Linked DNA regions of Homo sapiens: region 1 is linked to region 2. Evidence: promoter capture Hi-C in 16 types of primary human blood cells and fetal thymus (Javierre and others, 2016). All regions are on one chromosome and are shown on one strand. Each heading gives the region's core, a stretch centred on a gene start or on the middle of the fragment in contact. The rest is flanking DNA. Distances are from core to core; before and after follow the strand shown. Region 1 overlaps RCAN2 (regulator of calcineurin 2). Region 2 holds the start of ENPP4 (ectonucleotide pyrophosphatase/phosphodiesterase 4).

The links. The method cuts DNA at HindIII sites, captures the fragments that hold promoters and counts their contacts. A CHiCAGO score of 5 or more calls a contact.
Region 1: a contact is called between a fragment that was not itself captured here and the fragment with the promoter of ENPP4 in region 2, in 1 of 17 cell types (total B cells). The highest score is 5.2, in total B cells.

The regions. Positions count from the first base shown.
Region 1 is chr6:46,385,392-46,389,748 of GRCh38, forward strand. All of the region lies in intron 2 of RCAN2 (regulator of calcineurin 2), which reads right to left. Among named protein-coding and RNA genes, the nearest start is that of RCAN2, 100 kb to the right of the region's middle. The HindIII fragment of the contact is 4,079 bases long and covers 1-3,828 here.
Region 2 is chr6:46,128,126-46,132,437 of GRCh38, forward strand. ENPP4 (ectonucleotide pyrophosphatase/phosphodiesterase 4) reads left to right here and starts at 1,864. Exons shown (of 4, transcript NM_014936.5): 1 at 1,864-2,064. It also overlaps a transcript of CLIC5 not described here. The HindIII fragment of the contact is 7,807 bases long and covers 1,478-4,312 here.

The DNA of each region.
Region 1 (4,357 bases), core at 539-3,038, 260 kb after region 2:
GCAGAGCATGATTAGTAAGAAGCTGAAATGCAAAACCTAAAAACAAGCAATGGGGAAACGTTTCCCTATTTAATAAATGGTGCTGGGAAAACGGGCTAGCCATAAGCAGAAAACCGAAACTGGACCCTTTTCTTACACCTTATACAAAAATTAACTCAAGATGGATTAAAGACTTAAATGTAGGGCTGGGCACAGTGGCTCATGCCTGTAATCCCAGCACTTTGGGAGGCCGAGGTGGGCAGATCACTTGAGGTCAGGAGTTCGAGACCAGCCTGGCCAACATGGTGAAACCCTGTTTCTACTAAAAATACAAAAATTAGCAGGGCATGGTGGCGCATGCCTATAATCCCAGCTACTCAGGAGGCTGAGGCATGAGAATCGTTTGAACCTGGGAGGCAGAAGTTGCAGTGAGCCAAGATCATGCCATTGCACTCCAGCCTGGGCAGCAAAACAAGACTCTCTCTCTCTCAAAAAAAAAAAAAAAAAAAAAAAAGACTTAAATATAAAACCCAAAACCATAAAAATCCTAGAAGAAAACCTAGCCAATACCATTCAGGACATAGGCATGGGCAAAGATTTCATGATGAAAATGCCAAAAGCAATTGCAACACATGCAAAAATTGACAAATGGGATCTAATTAAACTAAAGAGCTTCCGCACAGCAAAAGAAACTATCATCAGTCGAGCAGGCAACCTAGAGAACGGGAGAACATTTTTGCAATCTACCCTTCTGACAAAGGTCTAATATCCAGAATTTACAAGGAACTTAAATAAATTTACTAGAAAAAGACAAACACCCCATCAAAAAGTGGACAAAGGATATGAACAGACACTTCTCAAAAGACGACAGTTATGCGGCCAACAAACATGAAAAAAAGCTCAACATCACTGATCATTAGAGAAATGCAAATCAAAACCACAAGGAGGCCGGGTGCGGTGGCTCACACCTGTAATCCCAGCACTCTGAGAGGCCAAGGCGAGTGAATCACCTGAGGTCAGGAGTTTGAGACAAGCCTGGCCAACATGGCAAAACCCCGTCTCTACTAAAAATACAAAAAAAAAAAAAATTAGCCAGGTGTGGTGGTGTGTGCTTGTAATCCCAGCTACTCGGGAGGCTGAGGCAGGAGAATTGCTTGAACTAGGGAGGTGGAGGTTGCAGTGAGCCGAGATCGCGCCACTGTACCCCAGCCTGGGTGACAAGAGCAAAACTCTGTCTCACAAAAAAAAAAAAAAAAAAAACTAAACTAAAAACTAATGAGATACCATCTCACGCTATCATGCCAGTCAATGGATTATTAAAAACTCAAGAAACAACAGTTAAGCTACCAATGACTTTCTTCACAGAATTGGAAAAAACTATTTTAAAGTTCATATGGAACCATAAAAGAGCCCACATTGCCAAGACAATCCTAAGCCAAAAGAACAAACCTGGAGGCATCACGCTACCTGACTTCAAACTATACTACAAGGCCACAGTAACCAAAACAGCATGGTACTGGTACCAAAACAGAGATATAGACCAATGGAACAGAACAGAGCCCTTAGAAATAATACCACACATCTACAACCATCTGATCTTTGACAAACCTGACAAAAACAAGAAATGTGGAAAGGATTCCCTATTTAATAAATGGTGCTGAGAAAACGGGCTAGCCATATGTAGAAAGTTGAAACTGGATCCCTTCCTTACACCTTATACAAAAATTAATTCAAGATGGACTAAAGACTTAAATGTTAGACCTAAAACCATAAAAACCCTAGAAAAAAACTTAGGCAATACCATTCAGGACACAGGCATGGGCAAGGATTTCATGTCTAAAACACCAAAAGCAATGGCAACAAAAGCCAAAATTGACAAATAGGATCTAATTAAACTAAAGAGCTTCTGCACAGCAAAAGAAACTACCATCAGAGTGAACGGGCAACCTACAGAATGGGAGAAAATTTTTGCAATCTACTCATCTGACAAAGGGCTAATATCCAGAATCTACAAAGAACTCAAACAAATGTACAAGAAAAAAACAAACAACCCCATCAAAAAGTGGGTGAAGGATATGAACAGACACTTCTCAAAAGATGACATTTATGCAGCCAACAGACACATGAAAAAATGCTCATCACCACTGGCCATCAGAGAAATGCATATGAAAACCACAATGAGATACCATCTCACACCAGTTAGAATGGTGATCATTAAAAAGTCAGGAAACAACAGGTGCTGGAGAGGATGTGGAGAAATAGGAACACTTTTACACTGTTGATGGGACTGTAAACTAGTTCAACCATTGTGGAAGACAGTGTGGCGATTCCTCAAGGATGTAGAACTAGAAATACCATTTGACCCAGCGATCCCATTATTGGGTATATACCCAAAGGATTATAAATCATGCTGCTATAAAGACATATGCACACGTATGTTTATTGTGGCACTGTTCACAATGGCAAAGACTTGGAACCAACCCAAATGTCCATCAATGATAGACTGGATTAAGAAAATGTGGCACATATAAACCATGGAATACTATGCAGCCATAAAAAAGGATGAGTTCATGTCCTTTGTAGGGACATGGATGAAGCTGGAAACCATCATTCTCAGCAAACTATCACAAGAACAAAAAACCAAACACCGCACGTTCTCACTCATAGGTGGGAATTGAACAATGAGAACACTTGGACCCAGGAAGGGGAACATCACACGCTGGGGCCTGTTGTGGGGTGGGGGTAGGGGGGAGGGAAAGCATTAGGAGATATACCCAATGTAAATGACGAGTTAATGGGTGTAGCACACCAACATGGCACATGTATACATATGTAACAAACCTGCACGTTGTGCACATGTACCCTAGAACTTGAAGTATAATAAATAATAATAATAATAATAAAATAAATAAATTTTAAAAAAAAGAAACAACAGATGTCAGCGAGGCTGTGGTGAAATATGAACACTTTTACACTGTTGGTGGGAATGTTAGTTCAACCATCGTGGAAGGCAGTGTGGCAATTCCTGAAGGATCTAGAACCAGAAATACCATTTGACCCAGTAAGCCCATTACTGGATATATACCCAAAGGATTATAAATCATTCTGCTATAAAGATACATGCACATGTATGTTTATTGCTGCACTATTTACAATAGCAAAGACATGCAATCAACCTTAATGTCCATCAATGATAGACTGGATAAAGAAAATGTGGTACATACACACCACAGAATACTATGCAGCCATTAAAAGGAATGAGATCATGTCCTTTGCAGGGACATGGATGAAGCTGAAAGCCATCATCCTCAGCAAACTAAAACAGGAACAGAACACCAAACACTGCATGTTTTCCCTCATAAGTGGGAGTTCAACAATGAAAACACATGGACACAGGGAGGTGAACATCACACACCGGGGCCTGTGTTGGGGAGCCGGCAGAGTGGGGAGAGCATCAGGACAAATAGCTAATGCATGTGGGGCTTAAAACCTAGATGACAGGTTGATAGGTGCAGCAAACCACCATGGCACGCGTATACCTATGTAACAAACCTGCACGTACTGCACGTGTATCCCAGAACTTAAAGTAAAATAAAACTTTTAAAAAAAGAAGAGATGTAAAACCTATGAAAACATGTAAATAAGTCAAAAGTTTTCTATATATCATGAGGTAGAAAATTACCTCAATGGTACTCTTTGGGCAACTTTGAAGGCAAAAGAAACCAGAAGGCAGGTCAGACGAATACTATCCTAATTATTTAAAAGAAAAAAAAATAGTTTCAGAGGCTTCCTGTGACCACAGGATATAGTCTAGATTCCATAGGAGAAAGGCAAGCAAAGTTTGATGCAAGCTTCAGCTTAATCTCCCATCACTACTGTCTCTTTCTTTGCATTCTGATGATAGCAATTTTTTTGCAGCTACCTGCACTCACTCAGCCTGCTGTTTCAGACTCCCCAGTTTTCTTTACACTGTTTCCTCTCACTGGAATGTCCTTCCTCTCCTTCTATTTATTCTTCCAGACTCAGCTCAGGAATCATCTCCTTCAGGGAGGGCTCCCAGAACTTCAAGGCACTCTCAATCCTCCATGCCCAGGTGCTTCCCAAAGTACTGATGACAGCGATATTACCCGCTGGGGTACCAGCCTCCGCACTTGCCTATCAGCTCCTCCAGGGCTAGATCATGTGCTAGTCATCTCTGCACTCCCAGTAATATTAGGGCTTAGTACTTTGCTGATGCACAATAAATGTTTGTCAGACTATTATATAGGTGTTCTGGAGCTGGTTATGCTATGTGGCTTATGAATGCAAAGAAAATAAAGTCGTAGAGGCCTTATAGCCCGCTTGAGGCTGCTGAGGCCTTATAGCCCGCTTGAGGCTG
Region 2 (4,312 bases), core at 614-3,113:
AGGATAACAAAAGTTTAGGGCCAAAGGTCCTTATGTGTCATTTTGTCCCTCTGTTCCTGACCACTTTATCTTACAGAGCAAGAGCCCAGGTGGCATGAGACTCCCTAATTTAACCCAGCCACACAGGCAGTAGCAGTGGATAAAGAGAGTCCTCTCCTGATGCCCATCCAGCTGCTATCTTCACCACACATCTGACCTAGATGGCATTCAGTTTTGTCCACCCTTTAAGCATACATATGCACCTACTGAATGAACAAACAGGATATGCACAATACCCCCAAATGCCACAAAATTTAAGTTCTGCTAATCTTAAATGTTATGTCATTGGACATTACCTAAATTCCCCCAAAACTTGGCCTTACCCTGACTATTGTTCAAATTGGGGTACTTTTTTGGTCATAATGATAATAATCCCCAAAACAACATGTGTCAGATACTGTGCTGAATACTCTACTCGCTTTCCTCATTCATTTGATAGTAAGAGGTTGGTATTGTAACAAGACGCGTTTTGCAGATGAGGAAATGAAAGCTCAAATAGGTTGAGACACTGGCCCATGATTGCTCTGCTGGTGAGTGACAGAGTGAGTATTCAAACCAGGTTCTAGGGTCTGCAGGTTCTAGGGATTCAGCTACAGACCCACTACCATCCCCTCCAGCTCTGAAAGCCCATGGATCTAAGATGCCCATATTCACCAATGCACAGGCCAACCTGAGACTTAAAACTGGAATTAATTTATCAAGGCACAAACTAATAATCAACGGAATACATCTATTGCCAAATCATCTCCATGGCTGCTTCCAGATTGTTGGTAATAGCTATACTGTAAGGTTCAGACCAAGGGGACCAACGTCAGAATTTGTTATCTAAGGTCCAGTACTGCAGTTTACTAATCCAGGTACTGGATTTACAGCTATTAAATACTTAACACTTGAGGATATCACATGTGATTAATATTCTTAATTTATTTGTACTTTTTATTTGAGCTGGAGATACAGTAGTGAACAAGAAAGAAAATACCTTCTGGAGCCTGCATTTTAACAAGCGGGACAATTAAATTCAATAGTGATTTAGCAAGTACTTCTATACCAAGTTCTGTTTGGCACTACAGATAAAAAGAAAAAAGATGCTATCCTCTCACTGCCAAGTGTGCCTGGACAACCCAACTGTTAGCGAATAATTCTACTTCTGTTTGGTAACTGCTCTTTATGTTGGAAAGTTTAGTTACATTATTCTATTAAATAACCTTCCAATTAAAAGCAGGAGCACAATCCCACATACGCGTCTGTCAAAGTAAGCACCCATTTCTCAGCTGTAACTCATTACTGGTTCCCTGCCGCAGGCACTGTGCTGCTTTTAACCTTACTTGTAAACTATTACCTAACTTCCCCGGTAAAGGTGCTCGCTTATCCAGTAAGACGGACAGACGTCTATGGTAGATCCACGTTTCATTTATCCCAACTCACTGGAACTGGCTGAAGCTTCTCCAGACTTGTGCCGGACCTTGGTGCAGCCAAAGTTGCTTTCTCCGCGGCCACCTAAGCTGCCAGGTGCACATTAACTAAGTGGCAGAAGGCCATCGGCTTGGCAATTGCCTGAGGCCTTTCCGGGACTCGCTGGTTTTTAGGTTCCATGAAGGGCATCCAGATCTAGGATGATACGAAAAGTGCGTGGTGGGAGAGTGGAATCAACCTCTACTCTTAGGTCCGATACAACCCCTCCAAGCACCTGTCTAACCAATCGGAAAGAAAGTTACATTCAACGCTGGTTCTAGCATCCAATCCAAGGACGTGTTTCAGACTCTGCTGCCCGGTCCCAGCCAGCCCTGAGCTGGCGCCTTAGACGCTCGCCTGGCAGCTGCGCACACTCGGAGCGCCCCGAGCGGCGCAGATAGGGACGTTGGGGCTGTGCCCCGCGGCGCGGCGCCTGCCACTGCGCAGGCGCCTCAGGAAGAGCTCGGCATCGCCCCTCTTCCTCCAGGTCCCCCTTCCCCGCAACTTCCCACGAGTGCCAGGTGCCGCGAGCGCCGAGTTCCGCGCATTGGAAAGAAGCGACCGCGGCGGCTGGTGAGTACGCGCCTCGCGCGCTCGGCGTTCTGGGGGGCAATGTCACCCCCTCTCCAGTCCCCTAGGGGCTTTGAAAATAGAGATGGTGAGACCAGACCCTATGACCCACTCTCCCCCACTACACGCACATCCCCTGGGGCGCGGCGGGGACGTCCACGAAGGGACTCAAAGAGCCAGGGAGGTGGCGGGCCGAGGCGGAGGCCAGGAAGGGAAGAGGAAAGAAAAATTAGCAGGTGCTGGGGAAGGCAACCTGTGGTGTTAAGTGTGAAGGGAGGGAAGTCAGCCGAACGGTAGTGGAGGAACCTAAGGTGGGTCTGGGGTAAAATTGAGGGGAGCTGGGGCGGGGTCGCCAGGCTTTTGGTTTTAAAGGAGAACCACCCATGGCATCGACATCCGTCTGTCTGAATATTAGATTAGAGTTTATGTTAATTATAGATAATGATATTTAAGAACTAATTTCCTGGAAAACAAGCCAACCAAACAATAAAAGGTACATTTAAGTGCCTTTTTAAAGGGCTGGATTAAAAGCACGTAAGGACTTAAAAACAATGCTTCCTTTTCTTGTCACAACCACCCTATGAGATCATAGCATTCCCATTTTACAGATGACGAAAGTCAGGCTCAGAGAAGTGAAGGGACGCGTCCAACCAAGATTGTACAACTAGTGACAGGCAGATTCAGGTTTACACCAGATCTGACTCCAGAAGGGCTTTGCTTAATCAGGCAATCTTGTGGACCCAAGTCTGAAGGAAGATTTGCCAACTACTGTGAAATATCAACTGCTGGTTTCAGTATTATGAGCTTCTATTTCTTCTTTTTTCCCCTCAGAGATTGTTTCAATCTGTTTTAAGGAAATTAAGAGGCCTGCTGCACTTGTGCGTCTTCCCCCCACCTCCACTTAAATTAGTTACAGGATATAATTTGGAAGACATTTTTTTTTATGGTCTCAGGTCTTAGATTTATTTATTTATTAATTATTATTATTATACCTTAAGTTTTAGGGTACATGTGCACAATGTGCAGGTTAGTTACATATGTATATATGTGCCATGCTGGTGCGCTGCACCCACTAACCCATCATCTAGCATTAGGTATATCTCCCAATGCCATCCCTCCCCCTTCCCCCCACCCCACAACAGTCCCCAGAGTGTGATGTTCCCCTTCCTGTGTCCATGTGTTCTCATTGTTCAATTCCCACCTATGAGTGAGAATATGCAGTGTTTGGTTTTTTGTTCTTGCGATAGTTTACTGAGAATGGATTTCCAATTTCATCCATGTCCCTACAAAGGACATGAACTCATCATTTTTTATGGCTGCATAGTATTCCATGGTGTATATGTGCCACATTTTCTTAATCCAGTCTATCATTGTTGGACATTTGGCTTGGTTCCAAGTCTTTGCTATTGTGAATAATGCTGCAATGAACATATGTGTGCATGTGTCTTTATAGCAGCATGATTTATAGTCCTTTGGGTATATACCCAGTAATGGGATGGCTGGGTCAAATGGTATTTCTAGTTCTAGATCCCTGAGGAATCGCCACACTGACTTCCACAATGGTTGAACTAGTTTACAGTCCCACCAACAGTGTAAAAGTGTTCCTATTTCTCCACATCCTCTCCAGCACCTGTTGTGTCCTGACTTTTTAATGATTGCCATTCTAACTGGTGTGAGATGATATCTCATTGTGGTTTTGATTTGCACTTCTCTGATGGCCAGTGATGGTGAGCATTTTTTCATGTGTTTTTTGGCTGCATAAATGTCTTCTTTTGAGAAGTGTCTGTTCATGTCCTTCGCCCACTTTTTGATGGGGTTGTTTTTTTCTTGTAAATTTGTTTGAATTCATTGTAGATTCTGGATATTAGCCCTTTTTCAGATGAGTAGATTGTGAAAATTTTCTCCCATTTTGTAGGTTGCCTGTTCACTCTGATGGTAGTTTCTTTTGCTGTGCAGAAGCTCTTTAGTTTAATTAGATCCCATTTGTCAATTTTGGCTTTTGTTGCCGTTGCTTTTGGTGTTTTAGACATGAAGTCCTTGCCCATGCCTATGTCCTGAATGGTAATGCCTAGGTTTTCTTCTAGGGTTTTTATGGTTTTAGGTCTAACGTTTAAGTCTTTAATCCATCTTGAATTGATTGTTGTATAAGGTGTAAGGAAGGGATCCAGTTTCAGCTTTCTACATATGGCTAGCCAGTTTTCCCAGCACCATTTATGAAATAGGGAATACTTTCCCCATTGCTTGTTTTTCT